Linked DNA regions of Homo sapiens: all the other regions are linked to region 3. Evidence: promoter capture Hi-C in 16 types of primary human blood cells and fetal thymus (Javierre and others, 2016). All regions are on one chromosome and are shown on one strand. Each heading gives the region's core, a stretch centred on a gene start or on the middle of the fragment in contact. The rest is flanking DNA. Distances are from core to core; before and after follow the strand shown. Region 1 has its middle 220 kb from the start of ETV1. Region 2 overlaps LOC105375161 (a long non-coding RNA gene). Region 3 holds the start of ETV1 (ETS variant transcription factor 1).

Evidence for each region. The method cuts DNA at HindIII sites, captures the fragments that hold promoters and counts their contacts. A CHiCAGO score of 5 or more calls a contact.
Region 1: a contact is called between a fragment that was not itself captured here and the fragment with the promoter of ETV1 in region 3, in 1 of 17 cell types (total CD8 T cells). The highest score is 5.3, in total CD8 T cells.
Region 2: a fragment that was not itself captured here is called in contact with the fragment with the promoter of ETV1 in region 3 in 1 of 17 cell types (total CD8 T cells); the score reaches 7.2 in total CD8 T cells.

The regions. Positions count from the first base shown.
Region 1 is chr7:13,768,878-13,772,850 of GRCh38, reverse strand. No RefSeq gene overlaps it. Among named protein-coding and RNA genes, the nearest start is that of ETV1, 220 kb to the left of the region's middle. The HindIII fragment of the contact is 265 bases long and covers 2,303-2,567 here.
Region 2 is chr7:13,740,948-13,744,660 of GRCh38, reverse strand. The region is part of intron 3 of LOC105375161 (a long non-coding RNA gene); the gene reads right to left. Among named protein-coding and RNA genes, the nearest start is that of ETV1, 250 kb to the left of the region's middle. The HindIII fragment of the contact is 580 bases long and covers 1,109-1,688 here.
Region 3 is chr7:13,987,513-13,991,028 of GRCh38, reverse strand. It overlaps ETV1 (ETS variant transcription factor 1), which reads left to right and starts at 1,363. Exons shown (of 14, transcript NM_004956.5): 1 at 1,363-1,466; 2 at 1,565-1,761; 3 at 1,890-2,021; 4 at 2,856-2,943. The coding sequence starts at 1,977. The HindIII fragment of the contact is 3,649 bases long and covers 1-2,671 here.

The sequences.
Region 1 (3,973 bases), core at 1,186-3,685, 220 kb after region 3:
TTAAGTTGCTTTCGTGGCATCTTGTTTTAACTAGGTCTTTACCTATGCCCTCCTTCCTTGGCTTTGGCAAATGATGGTATTTAGGCTTTAGGTAGAAAGCGGTGTTTGGAAAAGATGAATGGGCCCTTAGAAAAATGGGTGACGGTTTGTGACAATATCTGTCTGGGTATGACAAAGTCTCCTTTCCAGTGATAAAAGTTAATCTTTCCTCATTGCTGGATCTCCCTGGAAAGAGAATTAATGACAACTGAGTTTCTTTGGAAAATCTGTCTTTAGATAGGTACAGGGAATTAAAAAAGCCTTGCTTTGCTTACCTATTCATAGCAATAGTATGATAAAATGACGTATTTTAGGGTGGTATTTCCAGAGCTTCTTCAATGACTAGCTTAGTTTAATGAGCAATCCATGCATAATTCTTAGGAATGAGTAAATTATCTGAGTGTAAATGGCATAAAAGTTTATAAATGAACTTGTCATGGTTTCAAAAATATTTTTCAGTAATTTAAAATCTTAAAGTCATGTTAAATTAAGTAATACTCATTAAATATCTAAGTCATTTCTAAGTAAGTTAAAATACTGAAACATTAATTATTAAGAATAACTTTAAGTTTATATATTTTAACATTTTTTATATGATATAGAGAAGCTAAATATATTTGGGTTTATTAATCAACATAAAACACTGATTAAACATATATTTCTCAAAATTATGTAATAGCTTTCATCTACAAATACTGTTACAAAACAGTTCAAATTGCTTATTTTCTAGGTTCTTCACTGGAAATTAGTTACTAAGAGTTAAAATTGTAATTAATGTATACAATTAAAACTACTAAAAATAAGGGTAACAATTCTCTATGCAAAATATATAATAAAAAAGGAAAAATATGTTTTTGGTGAGAAAGGTTATAAAGGAGATATAAAAGTGTATTTTCTTTTAAAGTAATTTTATCTCAGACATTATTTAAACATTGCTTCAAAATAAACAAATAAAAAATGATATAGATAAAACTGAATGGACATAGAAAGTTTAAAAAAGGAAAAAAAGTTAAAAATATTGTGTGGCTAAACTAAGGATAAATAAATTCATTGTAAGAGTTTTAAAAACTGAGCCTTAATATCAAAAGAAAATTAGGGTGAAAATAAAATTTAGCTTTCTGTTTTAAGCAAGATTTTTGTGTTGTATTAATAAGAGATAATAAAAGATTTTTATTCACCTTTTGAGTAAACTGCAAAAACGGAGAGAGAGAGAGAGAATAAAAGAGAAAGAGAAACAAATATTCTGTGCCTTATTCTGACTTTATTAGGTCTTTTGATTATTTGGAAAACCGAGTCTCCTCTTTATCAAAGAGTAAAAGTTTTTATTTTTTAAGATGTTTTAATTATCACTTTGGTTAAATGACTATTATTTTCGGTGACATGTGATCCTATTTTGGTTAGGTATTTTAAACCCTTAATATATTTGGTAGACTTCCAAAAATCAAATTTTAAAATCAAAATTAAGTCTTTTTGATCTCAAACTAACTTTGAGATGTTCCAGAGGGCCCCGGGAGCATCCAAAAGAGATATATGAAAACCATTTATATGCTATGTTAACTTAAATGGAAAGTATTATCAAATAAGAAATGATACTTAACCTTTTTGGTTTGAGTTATAGTTGTATAGATATGTTATTAATACATGTTCCAAAATTGTATAAGCTCAGGATATGTTATCAGTCATAATTATTTTTATTACATTAAATTACTGTGGGCCATACAAATAACCAAATTTCCTTGCCAAATGCCTTTTTAACCATAACCATTTCAAGTCTTGTTGTCTGTAGTTAATTGTTAATTCCGATGTTTTTTCTGAAAGCTCTTTATAAACAATTACGATCTTAAAGTGTTATGTCTTCAAGGAGGTTCATGGAGAGACTGGAAATGACTCTGACAAGCACAGGTTGCTGATAACCTTAAGTTCATACCACTGGACTCAGTAAGAACTCCCAGAACTCTAATGAGGAAGACTGACTGGCTCATAAAACTGCTAACTCAAGCAGTATAAGAACTAATTAATTACCAAGGAAATACTGTGGCAGATTTTCATGCTAAGTCAGCCAGTACTAAAATTGCTAAGACAGGCAATTTGAGTGAACTTCGTGATCAAGTCAAATTACCTGTGTTAACCCATTTAATAAACAGTGCTATGAACCTGAATTACAGAAACAATGTTGATATTTTAGAGAGTGTAAATCCAGTGTTAAGCATGGACTCATGGAGAGCCTGGACAGCCACCTGGTCCCTTCTGAGTACTTAAAGCTTCCATTATTAAAAACTATGCACTTCATGATGACTCATCATAAAGAGACAAAATGATCCAAATTACATTAAAAAATATGGTGTGGTGACTGTTCTAAAATTGGCAAAATTACTATGACTAACGTTTGGTTACTCAAACCCTTCATTTTGTGAAGACATTCACAAGTTCAGGTACATTTCTGCTGCCTAATGATCTGTTTGAACATTTATAGAGGAATTTTTTTCAATTGTGATTTTCAATCCATGTTTTCTGGTTAGATAGAAGCTTTTCCATGAAAGAAGGCTGATGGTATAACAATAATTAAAACTGTTATTAGAAAATGTGCTTCCCTCATGGGATATTCTTGGAGAAATTTCCAACAACAGAGGTACTTATTTTACTGGACAAGTTGGAAAAGAAACAAGATATTACAGATAGAATAGCATTAGGTAACACTAACTGAATCAACTAGATTGTCTTGGTCAAAGGTACTTCAGATTGATGACAATAAGATCCACTTTCAGTAGAACGTGTAAGTTTTTTTTTTTTTTTTTTTTTTTTTTTTATTATACTTTAAGTTTTAGGGTACATGTGCACATTGTGCAGGTTAGTTACATATGTATACATGTGCCATGCTGGTGCACTGCACCCACTAACTCGTCATCTAGCATTAGGTATATCTCCCGATGCTATCCCTCCCCCCTCCCCCCACCCCACCACAGTCCCCAGAGTGTGATATTCCCCTTCCTGTGTCCATGTGATCTCATTGTTCAATTCCCACCTATGAGTGAGAATATGCGGTGTTTGGTTTTTTGTTCTTGCGATAGTTTACTGAGAATGATGATTTCCAATTTCATCCATGTCCCTACAAAGGACATGAACTCATCATTTTTTATGGCTGCATAGTATTCCATGGTGTATATGTGCCACATTTTCTTAATCCAGTCTATCATTGTTGGACATTTGGGTTGGTTCCAGGTCTTTGCTATCGTGAATAATGCCGCAATAAACATACGTGTGCATGTGTCTTTATAGCAGCATGATTTATAGTCCTTTGGGTATATACCCAGTAATGGGATGGCTGGGTCAAATGGTATTTCCAGTTCTAGATCCCTGAGGAATCGCCACACTGACTTCCACAATGGTTGAACTAGTTTACAGTCCCACCAACAGTGTAAAAGTGTTCCTATTTCTCCACATCCTCTCCAGCACCTGTTGTTTCCTGACTTTTTAATGATTGCCATTCTAACTGGTGTGAGATGGTATCTCATTGTGGTTTTGATTTGCATTTCTCTGATGGCCAGTGATGATGAGCATTTTTTCATGTGTTTTTTGGCTGCATAAATGTCTTCTTTTGAGAAGTGTCTGTTCATGTTCTTCACCCACTTTTTGATGGGGTTGTTTGTTTTTTTCTTGTAAATTTGTTTGAGTTCATTGTAGATTCTGGATATTAGCCCTTTGTCAGATGAGCAGGTTGCGAAAATTTTCTCTCATTTTGTAGGTTGCCTGTTCACTCTGATGGTAGTTTCTTTTGCTGTGCAGAAGCTCTTTAGTTTAATTAGATCCCATTTGTCAATTTTGGCTTTTGTTGCCATTGCTTTTGGTGTTTTAGACATGAAGTCCTTGCCCATGCCTATGTCCTGAATGGTAATGCCTAGGTTTTCTTCTAGGGTTCTTATGGTTTTAGGTCTAA
Region 2 (3,713 bases), core at 149-2,648, 250 kb after region 3:
AGCATAAGCACATGATAAATCTTATTTTACCAAGCTATTTTTTTCTGGAGAAATGCAACTTCAACTCTCATAAGGACTTTGTAACAGAACTGTATACGTATCTTTCCCCCAGTTTAAGATATAAACTTATGGCTGATCTAAACATTCACACACAGACACACAGACACACACACACGTCGTTTCTCTGTGTCTGCCTCTATAGCGCTCTCATTCTCTTTCCTGTATACATACATGCACACATACACACATATACATATATAAGTGAATATAGTGTGTATTCTACATACATACACGTTTTTGACTATCAGATAAATATCTATGACTTCACAAAATTTGGATTTATGAGGTTGTTAAAAGGAACCACAGGACAACATTGGAGTAAGGAGAGAAAAGAAAGACATTAGTGTGAAATCAATGTCACAAATCACAACACTGGAGTGCAGTCAAGAAAGTTGTGTATGAAACTTGTTAATCCGTCTTCTCCCTGGAAAGCTTTACTTTTTCTGAGAGAACTTAATATCACCTAGGAATTATTATATTTTTCCGCAGTCTCCCCTGTTAACTAATTCCCTTGTTGCACACATAGAGGTACAACAGTTTAATAAAACAAAGAGTGACTTGACATTGCCAGCACAGGGTTGTTTGTGTTCACCTGTGACATTTACAAGTGAAGACATACAGAACCTTCTTTTGTTTCCTGGATAATCGTTCAGGTGTTAAAGAAGTTGATTCAGTTTTAAATGGCATGATTTTCTCAAGCCTTGGAAAAATAATTGATGGATTTTCTTCTTTTTTCATAGCTCAAGTATACAAACTGCAAAGTCATGTCTAACTGTTTAATTTTACAAGACTGGAAAATATTGAATTTAAAGCTTAGGCTTTAGTTTAGGTTTATTCCTGGTGTTCAACACTGTCTAAACTTTCACAGGCAAATCGGAAATGAAACACAATTGAAAGTAAACCATGCTTTTTCTGCCTGAAAGGGGCCTTAATATTTCATTTTATGTTTTCAAATGGAATCTAATGAGAACGTGATTTTATACAGATACCTTGTGTCAATTATTCCTTGTATTCCTTCTAAAGCGATCTGTGCATTCAACTTGAAGCTTCATTAAGGATCAAGCCAAGTAGTCTTTAAAAAGTACAGGGTTTTGGTGATAGACAGATGGTGGCTTTCATGATGTCAGGAAGTGTCAGATATTATCGTTGGCTGCGGGATGGTGGCTACTATCCAAACAGATTGGGAAACAGACAGAAAGAGCAAGAACACCATTTGTTTTATTTAGATACATTGTGAACAGAAGGAAGCAAGACAGAGCATACTTTTACACATCTTTTTTCCACTCCTTGTGAAAACAGTTTAGGATTTGTTATGTTATATTAGCCCTTTCATTATGCAAAAACATGTGAAAGCCAGAGACACTGGTAAAAGAATTTGTCTCATTGTGATTTTCTATGAAGTTTGTTTATTTTTATTCTTACAGAACATGGTTTTTTAAAAAATTTCCTTTCATTGGCAATATTGAGTGCTAGAAACAGAGGGAGCTGAGATGTTGCCCTTTAGAAGTGCTATACTGTTAAGAGAGTATGAAGTGAGTATTGACTTCATGATCCAGAATGAGGGCTTCTCAGAGAACCTTATCAAAGATTCAGTTCCAAAACTGAACTTGCTTGTTTGTGATGAAGCTTAGTTATTTCTGTAAGGATTTAATTCACATTGGCAGCCAGAGGGCAGCATCAGCTCCAGACAAATATGCTGGTCCAGTTACATGAGCAAAGCTGAGTATTTACTCAGCAGTAGACGTAGGCATCAGGGCACTGTAGCATATTGGTGGGGGCCTTCCTAATCTTCATTTAAAAGAAAGTGAAAATTTGCTAGCATATTCAATAGATAAAACACCTTCAAACTTTGCTTTCTGAGAGTTACTTATATTTACCTGTTACCATAATCTTCTACTTTATCCCATAAGAGGTAACCAAATTTTTGACATTTTGATGTATCAGAGATCTGGTGCCACAATCTGCTGTACAATTGTGTCCCCAAACCAGAGTGAATATATTGGAAATGTGGTTCCTAATGCAGCTCCCATATATTTGAATGTGAGGGGCCAAACTAAATAAGGAAGAACACGTTGCTCATAAAAACCAGTAGTATGGTGTTATATAGAATGCAAATATTTAGGACCCGGAAGGACTTTGGAAGAACATTTTAGATTAGTGGTTTTCACCCAGTGCTTCAGAAAGTTCCAAAGTTTCATGCAGGCCCTTTATGGGCTGTGCTAGAGGGTGAGTAAAAGGTCAAGACTCCACTCCACTATCTCGGCTTCATCTCAACAGCTGTGTCAGTGATGTGGCTTTCCAGCCTAGGGACAAACAAGGATTGGAATCTTGGCTTAAGAGATGAGCATTCCTGTAGTAGAAAAGTGTAAAGCATTTGGCTGGGGCTGAGTTGGCATGACTGTATTTTAATTGCTCCCTAAGTTCAAACAGGAGTCAAATTCCAGAATGAGGTTTGGGATAACTATGTTACAAGGTAGAATAACCTTCCTCTCACCTCCTTCCACACCCCACTGATATTTGAGGCCTGAACATGATCAATATACCCAGAGGCTTTAAAGAGAAAGGAGAGCCTGAAAAAAAGTAATCTTAGCCCCTTCCTAGGACCCCCTAAAATTGCACAAGGCTGTACTTCAGTCAATGCTGTCTAAAGCACTACAGGCACCTCTTTTGTAAATGAGCTACTCCACAGCAGCATAAGAAATATTGTGAATTATTTACTGGGGGAGTCTTGAAATCACAATATACATACTGAATAATAACTAATAGTTTAATCATGTGTTCATTAAAAGGCAAAACAAAACTCTCACTTTCCTTTGGTTTTTGAGACAAGCCCATATATAAAGGGGAGAACATCCTGAGACACCTGGTGGAAAGCTGGTCTCTGGATTGTGGGAGGGACTGAAGTAGACTGAAAAGAAGGGTAGCATACACCCTTCATGCTAAGGGCATCCTGATTCAAGAGTCAGTCAGTGAATCTCAAAGAATTTCTACAAAGTTTTGGTTTATGCAGTAAATTTTATTGCTTTACATGAAATTAATCCTTGTTCTATCTTGGAAAGAATCTGAAGCATTTGACAGGTTAAAATTATGTTTCTCCAGAGCATGAATTTAATATCAGCCCTGGTTAGAAGTCATGAACTGTTGCAAGAACTCTTGTAAAGAGAAGTGTAATGTTAGAATATATGCTGAAGCCAATAATTTATATCATGGAATTAAAATATCTGGGAGTCATCTTAAATCTCACTTGGACTTTCAGCAGTAGTACACATTGAATCTATATTTTGGTGGGCTATCAGAAGAGGAAATATTTGATACATAATTTATTGCTCAAATGTTATTATTAGGTTTCAAACAGCTAAATGGAGAATTGTGTGTAAATTAAGATGTCATTGCATTAACAGTTCAACTTCTTATTTAAAAACGATGTTGGGGCTTGTTTCAGTGTACTTTTCTATGAAGTTTATTTTTAATTTTACAGAATGTAATTTATTTAAAAATTTCCTCTCATTGAAAAATATTGAAAGCTTCGAACAGAGAACTAATTTTAAGCTCTGCAAAATATTATTTCCTCCTAATTTTAGGAACAGGAAAAAAAAACCGCCTTACTTTACAAAAATAGACAAAAATTACTTGCCTAAGCTGCTTGGTGTTAG
Region 3 (3,516 bases), core at 114-2,613:
AGTGTTGATTGTTTGTTTGTTTGCTTCTTTTTTAAGTAGATCTTTCTCCTGCCCAGGTCCGGGGTTGAGTGCTGTGCGCTCTTACACTCCATTTTAATGTGTCTCCATAACGTTCTATTTAAGGAAGGAAACTTTCAAATAGAAATTGAGAACTGCAGCACGTTTCCTAACGGGCGGAACAGCTGCCGGAAACGTCTTTTGGTCACTAGTTCTGGTCACAAATGAATTTCAACAGCATTGAGTCCCTGGTCCTATCCCCGCGGCCTCCCGTCCGCTGTTGGACACTGGCTCCTTAAAGTGACGCTTTACTGTTCTGAGTCCCATAGGAGGATCAGGGCAAGTGGCTTCAGAGATGCAGCCCTCACTGCTTAACGTCCTAGTTATTGTCCTTGAAACCCGAGCCATCTCACCGCTCGCCCCCAACCCTGGGCTCTGGCTGTTTAAAAGCTGGAGAGGAAGTGAAAGCGTCAAGTACAGTAAGTGACACCCTCCGCCTCCGTGTATACATAACAAAAGCTCAGGAAACGTGCGGGTTCTAGGATATACGAGCAACCCCAAGCACTCCCTCCTCCTCCCCACAGCCACAGTGGACTGGAAGTACCTTTTCCCAGTGCACACGTAGGGACCATTTTGACTTATACTTTTTCACCTAGCTTGCTCTGTTGTCCTCCCATCACAACCTCTGCTAATCAGCAATTCTGCATCTCCTAGGTGCCTTCCTTATAGATTCTTTATGTTTCTGTCCCACGAACGATAGGATCTAATTTTAGTTGAGGATGACTGTTTAAAAAATGTTTCGATAAACCATAATGGTGATGGTGGGTTTTGAAAAACGGGAAAATAAATTGGGCCAAAAGCTGAGTGGGAATGAGGATAGAGAGCGAGGTGAGCTCCTAGTCAGGGCAAGAGTAGAGAGGTTGGAGATCCTGAGGGGAGGGCAGCTGAATAAGGCGGTACGGGCTTTGTGGATCGCGGCTCTAAGGGTATACCAGAACCGCACAACAGTACTTTAAGGAAACCAGCCCAATAGTGGACCTAACACCCCAATAATGGGAACTGGCGACTCGAAACACACGGTTTCAGTATCCCCAGGCGCCTTAACAATAAGCAGCGGGTTACAGAGGAAATCGAGTCTCTCCGTGGCGCTTCCAGGCTGAGGACCCAGCGCCTACCGGCCGAGCACCCCCTAGGGCAGAGGGGCGAGGGAGACCCGCGGGAAGGGGCAGCAAGCCGCCTGATTGACAGCCCGAAATCTGATCTTGTGAAAGAGACGCGGAGCCAATGGGAGGCAGCGATCCATCAGTTTGGATTGGAGGCCCCTGGAGGAGAAGTAGAGGAAAAACCACCGAATTGAGCTCTGTCAGAGGCGCTTTCGGCTTCCAAGGGGGAAGTGCTGGGCTATAATTAATGTTTTTATTAAATTTGGAGGGAAGTTTTTGCAGCCTTTCGCCTAGCGTGGCCTTCAGGTGGGTCTTTCCAACAACTTTTTATGTCTCTCCAGATAATTGCATGGTTGTGGGTCGCAAAAACTATCCTGATGAAAGAGGTGTCTCCGTCTCTTTAGTCCCGTTAGGTGCAAAGCAAGTCTCGTTGATCGCCATTGCTAGTTTTGCACACGTTTGCGAATCAGAGCTGCCCGGGGTACACCGACCGCGCAGGGAAACATCGAGAGTGTAAATAAATACATCGCCTCTTGTTCGGATTTTTGCTACTACCGAAAATATGTAAATTGTGAACTCTGTTGGCTCTCTTTGGATCCAGGTGAAGGAGGCGGTGTAGGGAGGGTTATTTTTGTGAATGGGACTGTCGGAGGGTAATTAGCTATGCAAATTCAAGAGCTTCATTCATGATTTTTTTTTAAGCCTAAAAGCCATCTTGTTCCCCTCTAGGTTGATAGAAGTCCAGATCCTGAGGAAATCTCCAGCTAAATGCTCAAAATATAAAATACTGAGCTGAGATTTGCGAAGAGCAGCAGCATGGATGGATTTTATGACCAGCAAGTGCCTTACATGGTCACCAATGTGAGTGATCAGTTTGAAAGTTGCTGTTTATAAACTTGACTCCGTCGGGGGTGGGGAGAGGGAGAAAATGAGAAGGGAGGGGGCACGGGGGTTGGGATTGCAGATACTTATCTGCTTTGTTGCCACTGTAGGGCGACTCTGCTTCTAGAAGCCCAGTCTTCAAAATGAGCTTACCTTTCAGTGATTTGGATAAGGCATAGTTTTGTTTTTAAGACCCCTTTTTCTGATTAAAGTGCCCAACATGAGTGGAAGAGGAGATGGAGGGCAGCAGCAGCTGCTGCACTCAAAGTTTTTGGCTGGGTTTGTCTGCCACATTGAAAAGAATGAAGTTGAGACAAATGCTGACACTTTTTGTTTATATGGGGTGTTTTTGTTTCTTTTTTTTTTCTCATTTTCTCTTTTTTTTTTTTTTCATTTCTCTACTCTTTTTGCTTTTTTTTTTTGTGGGGGTGGGGTGGGGAGGAGGGGCTGTCCAAGAGAGAATAAAACCCACTGTTTTAATCTAGCATTGAACCAGCCTAAAAACAACTTTAAGTGTAAATGCTTCAGGTTGTTTTGATGCTGAGATACCATGAATATATGATTGATAAATAGTAATGTGCTAAGATCGGCACTGGGAAGCAACTCTCCCTGCCTGCTTAACATAAGCTTTCACTGTCAAATAAGTGAGAAAATGAATATTAGAGTTGATACTATGGACTTCTATTTTTCTATTCAGAGAAGATCCATTAGACTTATGTATGCATGTCTGTGTGTGTGTGTGTGCGCGCGCGTGTGCGTGTGTGTGATCTGAGGTTTACATTCTTTTAAAGGATTTTATCTTTCCCTTTGTAGAGTCAGCGTGGGAGAAATTGTAACGAGAAACCAACAAATGTCAGGAAAAGAAAATTCATTAACAGAGATCTGGCTCATGATTCAGAAGGTGAGGTTTGATTTTGGGCTGAATCCCCATTTTTTTACCTACACTCTCCACCCTGCTAAAAGAAAAGGAGCACTTCAGTCTTATCTTAAAAATAATAAACTTTGAAATTACTGAATCTAACTAAGACTTTAACTTGGAACGATTTACATAATGCGGCAGTTTGCATGGGAGACTATTTTATGGTCCTATCACAAAGTAATGAAAGAAGGAAATAAAAACTTCTCAATGACAACCTTCTTTTAATCATTGTTTTGTGTTTAAATACCTTTGTCCATGGGGCATATAACTCACCCCATTCACTAAGATAACAATTTAAAAATATCCAATACAGTGGGACAAATTCAGCAGCTATGTACACTGCTTACTTTTTTCTTTCTCCTTTATTACAAGTTAAACAGTATTAGTGATTGTTTGGTTTCCCACCTCCTTTACACTAAAACCATCTACTATTAACAGAATTTTCAAGGGTGATTTTGATGACTAAATTGTGAGGTCATAATACCTTGTTTATCGACCATAATGTGTTCACTGAATCATACTTAAGGCCTCCTTAATAATTATAATACTATTTGG